Linked DNA regions of Homo sapiens: region 1 is linked to region 2. The links are contacts of gene promoters, found by promoter capture Hi-C in blood cells and fetal thymus (Javierre and others, 2016). All regions are on one chromosome and are shown on one strand. Each heading gives the region's core, a stretch centred on a gene start or on the middle of the fragment in contact. The rest is flanking DNA. Distances are from core to core; before and after follow the strand shown. Region 1 overlaps RPRD1B (regulation of nuclear pre-mRNA domain containing 1B). Region 2 holds the start of CTNNBL1 (catenin beta like 1).

The links. The method cuts DNA at HindIII sites, captures the fragments that hold promoters and counts their contacts. A CHiCAGO score of 5 or more calls a contact.
Region 1: a fragment that was not itself captured here is called in contact with the fragment with the promoter of CTNNBL1 in region 2 in 1 of 17 cell types (fetal thymus); the score reaches 5.4 in fetal thymus.

The regions. Positions count from the first base shown.
Region 1 is chr20:38,037,400-38,042,612 of GRCh38, forward strand. It overlaps RPRD1B (regulation of nuclear pre-mRNA domain containing 1B), which reads left to right. Exons shown (of 7, transcript NM_021215.4): 2 at 3,036-3,165. It overlaps LOC124904898 (a long non-coding RNA gene), which reads left to right. Exons shown (of 2, transcript XR_007067579.1): 2 at 60-708. Among named protein-coding and RNA genes, the nearest start is that of RPRD1B, 6.3 kb to the left of the region's middle. The HindIII fragment of the contact is 743 bases long and covers 3,051-3,793 here.
Region 2 is chr20:37,690,739-37,696,341 of GRCh38, forward strand. CTNNBL1 (catenin beta like 1) reads left to right here and starts at 3,292. Exons shown (of 16, transcript NM_030877.5): 1 at 3,292-3,414. The coding sequence starts at 3,385. It overlaps LOC105372609 (a long non-coding RNA gene), which reads right to left and starts at 538. Exons shown (of 4, transcript XR_936703.1): 1 at 445-538; 2 at 125-212. RefSeq lists an enhancer at 3,570-3,629. The HindIII fragment of the contact is 18,373 bases long and covers 1-5,603 here.

The sequences.
Region 1 (5,213 bases), core at 2,172-4,671, 350 kb after region 2:
CAGCCAAACAAGTGAAAAGTTTTGATTAACCAGTTGTTTAAATTTTACTCAACAACTAGTTTGACCAGTTTGGAATGGACATGGGTAGTGAGTGAAAGGACCTATTTCTGTCGTATAGGAAGGACATCTGAACAAGTGAGTTGTCCCCCAGGATTGGGATGGAGGGGTGTGCATGTTGTGTGTATTGTGACTGTGTGTGCTCAAGAGCTCTAGGGTTTTGTCATATCACCTTGACACACATGGTGCTTATGTTGACTGTTGAGGATGTTGAATATGGAGGGATACAGTTTATCCTAAATAAATCCCCATTGTTAAGTTCTGGGGTGATGAAAATTAATTGGCATTGTAAACAGTGAAAACCTTGGGTCTCAAGCCCCTTAGATACCTTGTTTGTCTACTGAGAAGTATATATCAGGTCTTGAATGTCCACACTGACATTTTACAATATGGATTCTAGGTTTTTTTTTTTTCAACATAAAGTGTATGGAATTTTAAAGCTTCACTTAATGAAATTTGCTTTGTTGAAGTTCTGTTTTGCTTTCGAATCTGCTAACTTGCATGGGATTATAGGTGTAGTAGTTTCACTTACATCAACTTTGCAGAGCAAGGTTTGCTTTAACAAAAAAGCACGTTTTGCCATAATCATACCTTTGTAGCAACAGTAGATATTGTAACTACTGACACTTTTGTTCTGCTTTTGAATAATAATTAGAAAGTTGAAGAAAGCTCCAGGTTCCTAGTATTCTTATCAGTTGGCCATCTAAACTAGGTTATTACCAGAAGGTTAAGACAATTCAGGGTATCCATATTTAATTTTATGAGCATTTAAGACATCAGTTTCATCAGTTTAAACTGTAATGTGCTATTAAAATCATGTTTTTAACTTGGGTTACTCTCCTGTAGCTACATTTTTTTTTTTTTTTTTGAGACGGAGTCTCTTACTCTGTCACCCAGGTGGGAGTGCAGTTGGCGCGATCTCGGCTCACTGCAACCTCCGCCTCCCAGGTTCAAGTGATTCGCCTGCCTCAGCCTCCCAAGTAGCTGGGTTTACAGGCGCCTGGCACCACGCCCGGCTGATTTTTTTTGTTTTGTTTTTTTTTTTTTTTTTTTTTTTTGAGACAGAGTCTTGCTCTGTCACCCAGACTGGAGTGCAGTGGTGTGATCTCGGCTCACTGCAAGCTCCGCCTCCTGGGCTCACCCCATTGTCCTGCCTCAGCCTCCTGAGTAGCTGGGACTACAGGCGCCCGCCACCACGCCTGGCTAATTTTTTGTATTTTTAGTAGAGACAAGGTTTCACCATGTTAGCCAGGATGGCCTTGATCTCGTGACCTCAGGTGATCCACCTGCCTTGGCCTCCCGGAGTGCTGGGATTACAGGCGTGAGCCACTGTGCCCAGCCTCCTGTAGCTACATTTTAAAATGTCAGATCTTATGCCTGCTATGTCAGACATATCAATGCTTTGTACATTTCAAAAGAAACAACTGGTTTCAGAGAGAAATAGAGTTACTCAGGTGTGTTAAGGTTGATAAAGAGCTTGTGTTTTTCAGGTACTTTAGCATTGGAGAAAACTTTGTGTTTTGAAACATCTAATTATGTTCTTATTTATTTCTTTTAAAAGAAAATTGGAACCAAAAATTGTAGGGATGTAACTTTATAGTTGAGAAATTATGTGCATAGAAGCCAGGGAATTCAGTAATGTTCCCCAAAGCAACTGTAACTCAGACATATTGCACGAGGTTTTTATGGTTTAATATATGATACCATATAGAGTAATAGGGAATAACCACATTTCATATAAATAAGAGAGAATTATGGTTTTTGTGAAAGCCCTAATTTTGCATATCTAGATTTCACACGTGTGTAAATTTTCAATAAGAGTGTAGTGTTAATGTATACTTGTATTTGAGCTAATATCTATTGGTGCACCTAGAGATTCTTCTATATTATTGATTATGGTTATTGGAGTATCAGAGAAATTCTCAGTTTAGGAGCAAAATTACAAGAAACCTTTTTTTTTTTTTTGAGACGGAGTTTTGCTCTTGTTGCCCAGGCTGGAGTGCAACAGCATGATCTAGGCTCACCACAACCTCTACCTCCCGGATTCAAGCGATTCTCCCACCTCAGCCTCCTGAGTAACTGGGATTACAGGCATGTGCCACCACGCCAGGCAAATTTTGTATTTTTAGTAGAGACGGGGTTTCTCCACGTTGGTCAGGCTGGTCTCAAACTCCCGACCTCAGGTGATCCGTCCATCTCGGCCTCCAAAAGTGCTGGGATGACAGGCATGAGCCACCACGCTCGGCGAAACCATTTTAAAATTGAAACCTAACTCAGTCTTTTTTTTTTTTTTTTGAGACAGAGTCTTGCTCTATTGCCCAAGCTGGAGTACAGTAGTGCAATCTCGGCTCACTGCAACCTCCACCTCCTGGGTTCAAGCGATTCTCCTGCCTCAGCCTCCTGAGTAGCTGGGACTACAGGTGCCCACCATCACACCCGGCTAATTTTTGTATCTTTAGTAGAGGTAGGGTTTCACCATGTTGGCCAGGCTGGTCTCAAACTCCTGACCTCAAATGATCCACCCACCTCGTCCTCCCAGAGTGCTGAGATTACAGGCATGAGCCACTGCGTCCGGCCAACTCAGTCTTTCATTCTGAAATATTTGATAATTAAAAGTGAGTTAGAAGTTGCTCATTTTTGCAGTAGAATAAATAAAAGCCCTAGTTTCAACATTAACACTGACTGCTTATCCTTTAGGAATTCTCTTTGGATTATCTTAATTTTTACTATCAATTAATTACCCTGGTTTAAACAACACAGCAATGAAGATGGCCCATTCTTTTTCTTTTTCTTTTTTTTTTTTCCGAAATGGTATTCCCAAACCTATTCCTTAGGTGGTCTTTTTAAACATATCTACTTGACCCCCCAGGTAGATAATACTTGTCTTAATGTTTTTTTAGGAGCAGCCCAGGGCAAAAGAATTGTGAATTGAGAATTTCTTTGGTGTAAGTTAAATTCTTTTCTTTTCTTTTTTTCAGCCAAATCAAATAGAAAGCTTACTTTTCTGTATTTAGCGAATGATGTCATCCAAAACAGTAAAAGGAAAGGACCTGAATTCACTAGAGAATTTGAATCTGTCCTTGTGGATGCTTTTTCTCATGTTGCCAGGTATGTTGTCTGTTTTTTGGATTTGTTTTTAAATTCATTGCCTTTCCCACCTTTTTGTTCTTTCCTTTTCTGTGATAGCCTTTGTAAATTGACAACTTCCTACTTTACAGAGAGTTGTGGAGGCCGAATTGTGGTTTTATGTTTTGTTGAGCCCTCAAGAACTATCGAGACATGTAAACATTCTGATACATTTGAGAGATTCAGCCTAGCATTATCTTTCTTCTAGATATATTCATTTTCATTTTTTGAATTTATTTCTTGGTTATGGTATTTTCCTTGGTTTGGTTGAGTTGTCTCATCAGCTTATGATCAAAAAACAAAGCTAACTAGTAAGGGAACCTTTTAGTAACATAACTTAATAGCAAGAAATTAATTGCCAAATGCCTTCCTTTTTATTTCCTTCTGGATTTCTAGATGTCTAGTTTACTAAAAATAGTAGGCATTACTGTAACTGCAATAATAGTAATTATTAGTGTAGAAAGTAGGTGTTTGCTCTGGCTATATTGTATTAAGCCTGGTGCTGTTGTGTTTTGTGGCAGAGAGGAGTGGCACTCATACAACTAATACCATAGAAAGCATACATTGGATTAAAAGTTTTATAAATTACTTTACTTCATGTAAAAACAAAAGCTTTCTGTGGGCTTAAATTAGGTGCCCAGGAAAAGCAAAGAAAAACTATCGTTCATTAGAATATTATGTTTATAAGTAAATATATAAACAGATATTTGCAAAAGGAATTGGGAAACATGAATGGGAGACTAGTAGGTTAAACATAAATTGTTACTAGGTCTAAAATATAGTGAAAGGCCTTAAATGAGAAATGAAGTCCTGCTTTCATTGCAGGATTTGAAAAGTTTGAAGGAATAAAATTAGAAATCCAAGAGAAAGAAATGACACCTAGCTTTCTAGAGATGAAAAAGATGGTTTTTGTGGATAAGTTACATAACTGGCTCACCTTTTGATCAACATGGGCGCAAGTAGCAAAATGTGTTATTAACTTGAAAAAAATACTGAATCTTCATAACAGAGTAAGCTTAGAACAGACTACTAGAGGAGCTATCTGAAATAGACAGATTTTCTTGCTTTGATGAGATTTAGTTCACAGTTGCTTAGAAATTGATGGTAGCTCTGCCTCAGACACTATGTGAGTGACCTTGGATGTGTTACTTAACTTTTTGAGCCCAAATTTCCTAACTGGCTAAAGGGGGAGGATACCACTCCCCCTCATAAGAGTTGTGAGGGTAAAGACAGACAATATGTTTAAAAGTATGTAGTACAATGCCTGTTCCACATTTGCTCATTCATTGGATCATTTGTTTTTTCCTATATTCCAGGCACCTAGTAAAGTGTCTGGCACAGAGCTGCTGAGTTATGTAGCTTGAAGGAATACCATTTATATAGCCTCCATGTAAGTGGTGTCCCAGGAGCTGGGCAACATTATGGTCTGCCCTGACACAGTAGGCGTTCAGTAAATATTTGTTAAATGAGTTAATTAATGTTAACTCATTATGGAAGAGATTTGGTCTAGGGAGTTGGCTGGAATGATTTCTTGTAGGGATAGTAAACATAACAGTGTTATTAAAAAATTCCAGCCTGGGCAGCATAGTGAGACCCTGTGTCTACAAAAAATTTTTTAAAAATTAGCCAGGCATGGTGGTGTGCACCTGTAGTCCTAGCTACTTGGGAGGCTGAGGCAGGGGGATTGCTTGAGCCCAGGAGTTCAAAGCTGTAGTGAGCTATAATCATACCACTGCACTCCAGGTTTAGCAACAGAGCATGACCCTGTCTCTAAATTACAAACAGACAAACGATCTGTAATCTTTAGCTGTCCTGAAACCAAAAAGTAAATAGAAAGGGGTGGAAAAGGGGGTGGGCAACACCAGGGTTAAAAATTCCTTTTTTCTTGGGAACACCTTAAAAACTAGCCAGGTTTTAGGTGTCTTGGCAGATTCAGTGGCAGTGTGAGGAAGATAAACCTGGTCCTTCTCAATAAAATAGCCCGAATTCCTTTCTGTTTGCATTCTGGTTCTTTTAAGATTCTGCTTGGG
Region 2 (5,603 bases), core at 2,042-4,541:
ACATGAGCCACCGTGCCCAGCTGCCAACTCCTTACAATATTAATATAAGACACACAGCACTTTTCTGTGCCAGGCACTGTGCCAAGTGCTTTGCATACAGCATTTCATGTAAACCCTCCATAACCTTATGAGGTAGATTTGGTTGAATCTCCACTTTGCAGGTGAGAAAATCAGGCATGTAGAGGTGAAGTTCATTGCCACTGTTTCCACATCTGTAAAATAAGACTCATATCAACATTTTCTCCATGAGGTTTTCACCCAAACTAGAATGTAGGTTTCCAGAAGGCAGGAGCTTTGTTTTATAAACTTCCATATCCTCAGAGCCCAGAATTGTGCCTAGCATTGAGTAGGCTCTCAGTAAATACTTGTTGAATGAATGAATGAATGAATGAGTCATGTTACAGATAAGGAAAGTGTAATTTAGGGACAGAGAAAGTAACTTACCCAAGGACCCATGGCTAGATATGGTGGAACTTCCACTAGAACCAGAATCAGGGTGTGTTGGGTAGATGTTTAACAACTGGCTCGGCTGGGTGCAGTGGCTCATGCCTGTAATCCCAGCACTTTGTGAGGCCAAGGCGGGGGGATTGCTTGAGCTCATGAGTTTGAGACCAGCCTGGGCAGCATGGTGAAACTCTATTTCTACAACAACAGCAACAACAACAACAACAACAAAATAAGCCAGGCATGGTGGCGCACGCCTGTAGTCCTAGCTATTTGGGAGGCTGAGGTGGGCTTCAGCCCGGGAGGGGGAGGTTGCAGTGAGCTGAGATCCCGCCACTGCACTCCAGCCTGGGTGATAGAGCCCGAGCTTGTCTCAAAAGCAAACAAAGAAACAAAAAAACCCTACAAGTAGCTCTCTGGAAAAACAACAACATTAACAACCCTGATTTGTAGCATTTGCTGATTTACATTGTACAAATACTCCTAGCATGGCTGATTTCAAGCTATCAACCTGGTGTCAATCAGCTTGCAAGTTTCCTACAAATTTAACCATGGGCTTTTGTAGACCTGTCTGTGCAAGCTGGCATCAACATACCATGAACTAGAACACAGGGGTCTGGGTCCAAAGGGTACACCCTCACCATTACTCTCTCCTGTCTTCCCAAACAAGGCACAGTCTATATTCTATTTTTTTTTTTTTTTTTTGAGACGTAGTCTTGCTCTGTCGCCAGGCTGGAGTGCAGTGGTGCCATCTTGGCTCACTACAATCTCCACCTCCCTGGTTCAAGCGATTCCCCTGCCTCAGCCTCCCAAGTAGCTGGGACTACAGGCACGTGCCACCACACCTGGCTAATTTTTTGTATTTTAGTAGAGATGGGTTTTCACCATGTGGGCCAGGAAGATCTCAATCTCCTGACCTCGTGATCTGCCCTCCTCGGCCTCCCAAAGTGCTGGGATTACAGGCGTGAGCTACCACACCCGGCCGGGCACAGTCCATATTCTTATATAAGTAGGAGGGGGAAAGACACCCAAATAGACTGAATTCAATGCAGATTGCATAGGTGATCCTTTAAAAACATAAGCCCAGTCACAAAACTACCTTGCTTAAAACTTTCCTTATGCCGTTAGCATAAAATCCAATCTCTCTCTCTTTTTTTTTTTTTTTTTTTTGAGACAGAGTCTTGCTCTGTCACCCAGGCTGGAGTGCAGTGGTGGAATCTCAGCTCACTACAGCCTCTGCCTCCTGGGTTCAAGCGATTCTCCTGCTTCAGCCTCCCAAGTAGAGGCATGTGCCACCATGCCCAGCTAATTTTTGTAATTTTTAGTAGAGACGAGGTTTCACCATGGTGGTCAGGCTGGTCTCAAACTCCTGACTTCAAGTGATCTGCCCGCCTTGGCCTCCTAAAGTGCTGAGCTTACAGGCGTGAGCCACCACGCCCGGCCACGCCTAGCCAAAATCTAATCTCTTTACCATGGCACACAAGGCCCATTATGAAACCTCTCCCTCTACCAGGCACTGTACTAGGCTTGGGGGATACAGTGGTGAACATGACACACACATGTCCTGCTTGCATAGAGCTTGCAATCCAGTAAATGAGGCTGTCAAGAAACAAATAGTCAACCATTAAGCACAAAATTACAGAATGAGATATATACGTAGTGGAGCAGGTACTTGGAAAAAGAATAATGAGGAGAGAGGTTGATTACCTGGACCAGGGTGAGTTGAAGAAGCCCTTGTAAGAAAGTGACATTTGAGACCCGAAAGATGAGAGAATTGGATGAGGTATGGTGCTGATGGCCAGGCAGAAGGGGAGAGGATTTGTCATTCTGAGGAATAAGAATAATTTCTGTATAATTGGAGCCAGTGCAGATGGGATGGGGACCAAAATTATAAATATGAAGGGCATATAAATATAATATAATACATAAATATAATTATAAATATAAAGGACAGGGGCTTATGGAAGGAGGTTTAATTTCCTTTGAAGATGGAGCCTTAAGTCCCAGGTGCATTCTGATCTTGTTTAAGATCAGATGCACTCTGAATGATTCTCTTCCAATTATGGGCAACTTTCTCCTCCAGAAACCTTTTTATATCACCTGGGTAGCAAGGGGATCATCTAGTGACCGTTAGACTTCGCATAGATGAGCAGACACAAGCCTAGAGAGGGACATGTGATCACCAATAGTTTCTCAGCCAGTAATAGTTGTACAGCCTTGGAACAAGTCACTTTTTGAGCCAGCACTATCTGATAGAAATTAATGGGAACCACAAATGAGAGCCACATGTGTAATTTAAAACTTTCTACTAACCACATTTAAGAAGTAAAGAGAAACAGGTAAAATTCATTTTATAATATATGAATTTGACCCAGTATATCCAAAATATCATTTCAACCTGTAATCAATGTAAGTCTTAGAAATCTGGTGTGTATTTTATTTACACTTATGGCACATCTCACTTCGGAGTAGCCATATCTCAAGCGCTCGGTAGCCATATGTGGCTAGTGAGTAAAGTATTGGATGGTGCAGTTGGGAGCGTCAGTTTCCTTTTCTGTGAAATGAGGATAAATCACTGGAAGCTCGTGAGAGCGCACACGAAACACCCGGCACTCCGCCCTGGACACTAGGGACGCGCAATCAAGTTTGGTTTCTTCTGGTCCCTGCTCTCCCCTCCCGCCCCTCCTCTAAGTCTCCGCCCCCTTTCCCCGCCCCCTCAGGCTCCAGGCGGAAGCAACCCTGTTCCAAATGCAGCGCGCTTTACGGCGGCGCGTCCTTTTACCGCGGTGTGGCCGGCTCGCTTGTCGCTCGCACTTTTGCCCTATTGGCTCTGCGGCTCCGCTCGCCGCACTTTACGGCAGTGTGGCTGGAGCCGCGGCTGACGGGCCCGCGGTCTGGGCGTGAGTGCAGGGAAGTGGAGTATTTGCTGGGCCGGGTACCATGGACGTGGGCGAACTTCTGAGCTACCAGGTATGAGGGGCAGGGAGGGCCGAGCGACCGCGTTCTCACCTGGGCAGGGGTCGCAGGAGCCAGAGCCCTTTCATCTCACCTCCTCTCGCCTCACTCCCGGGCCCTCTAACTTCTCATGCCACCCGGGGTCTCAGCCCCTCGTTTTACTTTGCTCTCCGAAGCCCTCCTGGGCCCTTTCGATTCATCCCTTCTCAAGACCTGAGCCCTTCACCTCCTCTTCCTCACCCTGGGGCCTGGTTCCCTGAAACTCCTCTGAAACCCCAGACTATCCTTTTTTTCACAACCATGTCCTCTCAGCTCTCATGTCCCCCCAGTCATTGAGGTGATGGTGGTGGCGGCGGTGGGAGTGCACTGGTCTCACTTGGATTTGATCTCCAGCTTCTCCACTGACTGGCTATGTGGCTTTTGGACAAGTCATTCCCCCCCTCTTTGAACCAAGTTTTTGTATCTATATAGTGGAGACACTAATAACTGCCTTAGTAGGGTTGTTTGAGGACTGTACCAACTGATATGTATGAAAGCTGGTTTTAAAGTGTGGAAAGCTGTGCTTGTGTTTACTGCGATTTGCAGGAGATGTTGGGAATTCTAGCATGGAATGAGTTTCTAGGAATCTTGCTCAGGGTCCCCCTTGCCTAGGAAACTTGTGGGGAAACTGTATGGGACCTAGAGAGCAGAAAGGGCTTGTCCAAAGTCACTCAGAAACAAGGAGCTGGAATTTGAGCTCAGGCGTACTGACTTCCACCCCAAAGTTTTTCCCCCACTTTGATTCCATAGGAGGGTCATTGCGAGGAGCAGTAGAGCTGCACTGCCGAATGTCGTAGCCACTAGCCACATAGGCTGTTGATTGCTTGAAATGTGACTAGTCTGAATTGAGAAATACTGTAAGTATAAAGACACATTTGGGTTGGAGACTAGTATGGAAAAAGTGAAATTTTTATATTGATTACATGATCGTACTGATTATATCAATTACATTGGTTATTGGTCATATTGATTAAATGATCATATTTTGGATAATGGGTGAAATAAAATATACTTAATTAATTTTTAAAATTTTATTTTATTGTTATTTAGAGACAGGATCTTGCTCTGTCGCCCATGCTGGAGTGCAGTGGCACAATCATTGCTCACAGTAGCCTTAAACTCCTAGGTCTAAGGTATCCTCCCAAGTAGCTAGGACTGCAGGCAGGCATCACTATGCTTGGCTGATTTTTAAATTTTTTGTAGAGACAGGGTCTTGCTATGTTGCCCAAGATGGTCTCAAACTCCTAGCCTCAAGCAGTCTTCCCACTTGGCCTCCCAAAGTGCTGGGATTACAGGTATGAGCCACCACACACCACACTCAGCCAATAAAATATGTTTAAAACCAATTTTAACTGCCCCTCTTGACATTTTAATGTGTTTACTAGAAAATTTAAAACAACATATATAGTTCAGCTTATATTTTTGTTAGACAGCCCTGCAGTCAAGAATAGGTGATTAAGAGCCATGAGTCTGGACCCCTAGGTTGCTGGCAGTCTCTGTTTTGCTACTAACTGGCTGCTGTAACCTTGAACAAAATACTTAATTTCTCTCTGCCTTGGTTTCTTCATCTGTAAATGGGGGACAGTGACGGTAGCTGCCTCACAGGGCTGTTGTGAAGCTGTTGAGAAATGGAAAGTCCTTAGACAATGCTTGCCAAAGAGTAAACATTCAGTAAATATTAGCAGTTATTTTCATACCACTCCCTCAGCCAAAGTACAAGAAATTGACCCTGGACGCTTAAGACATCATGGGAAAGAACAGTTCAGCAATGGGGAGCTATATAGCCAAGAGATTTTTCTTTTAAAGACAGTTTAATTGATAGTGAAAGATGAAGGGAAATAGGCAAGTTATTAAATCAGTGATTGTATGCCGGCTTGGAATTTCTAGAATGGCTAGCCCATTAAAGCTAGAAGAGTTTCATTCATTTGCTCAACAAATATATATTGAACACCTACTGTGTGCAAGGCAGTCTATCCACTGGGTATACAACACTGAATAAAAGACAAGATTCTTGCTTTTGTGGAGCATCTGGTGGGAAGTTACAAGATAATAAGTAAACAATGCATTCAGTTTGTGGTAAGTGCTGGGAAGGGAATATAGCAGAGTATGCTATAAAATTGCACTGCTTTGTATAGTAGCCACTAGGCACATGTGATTATTGAATA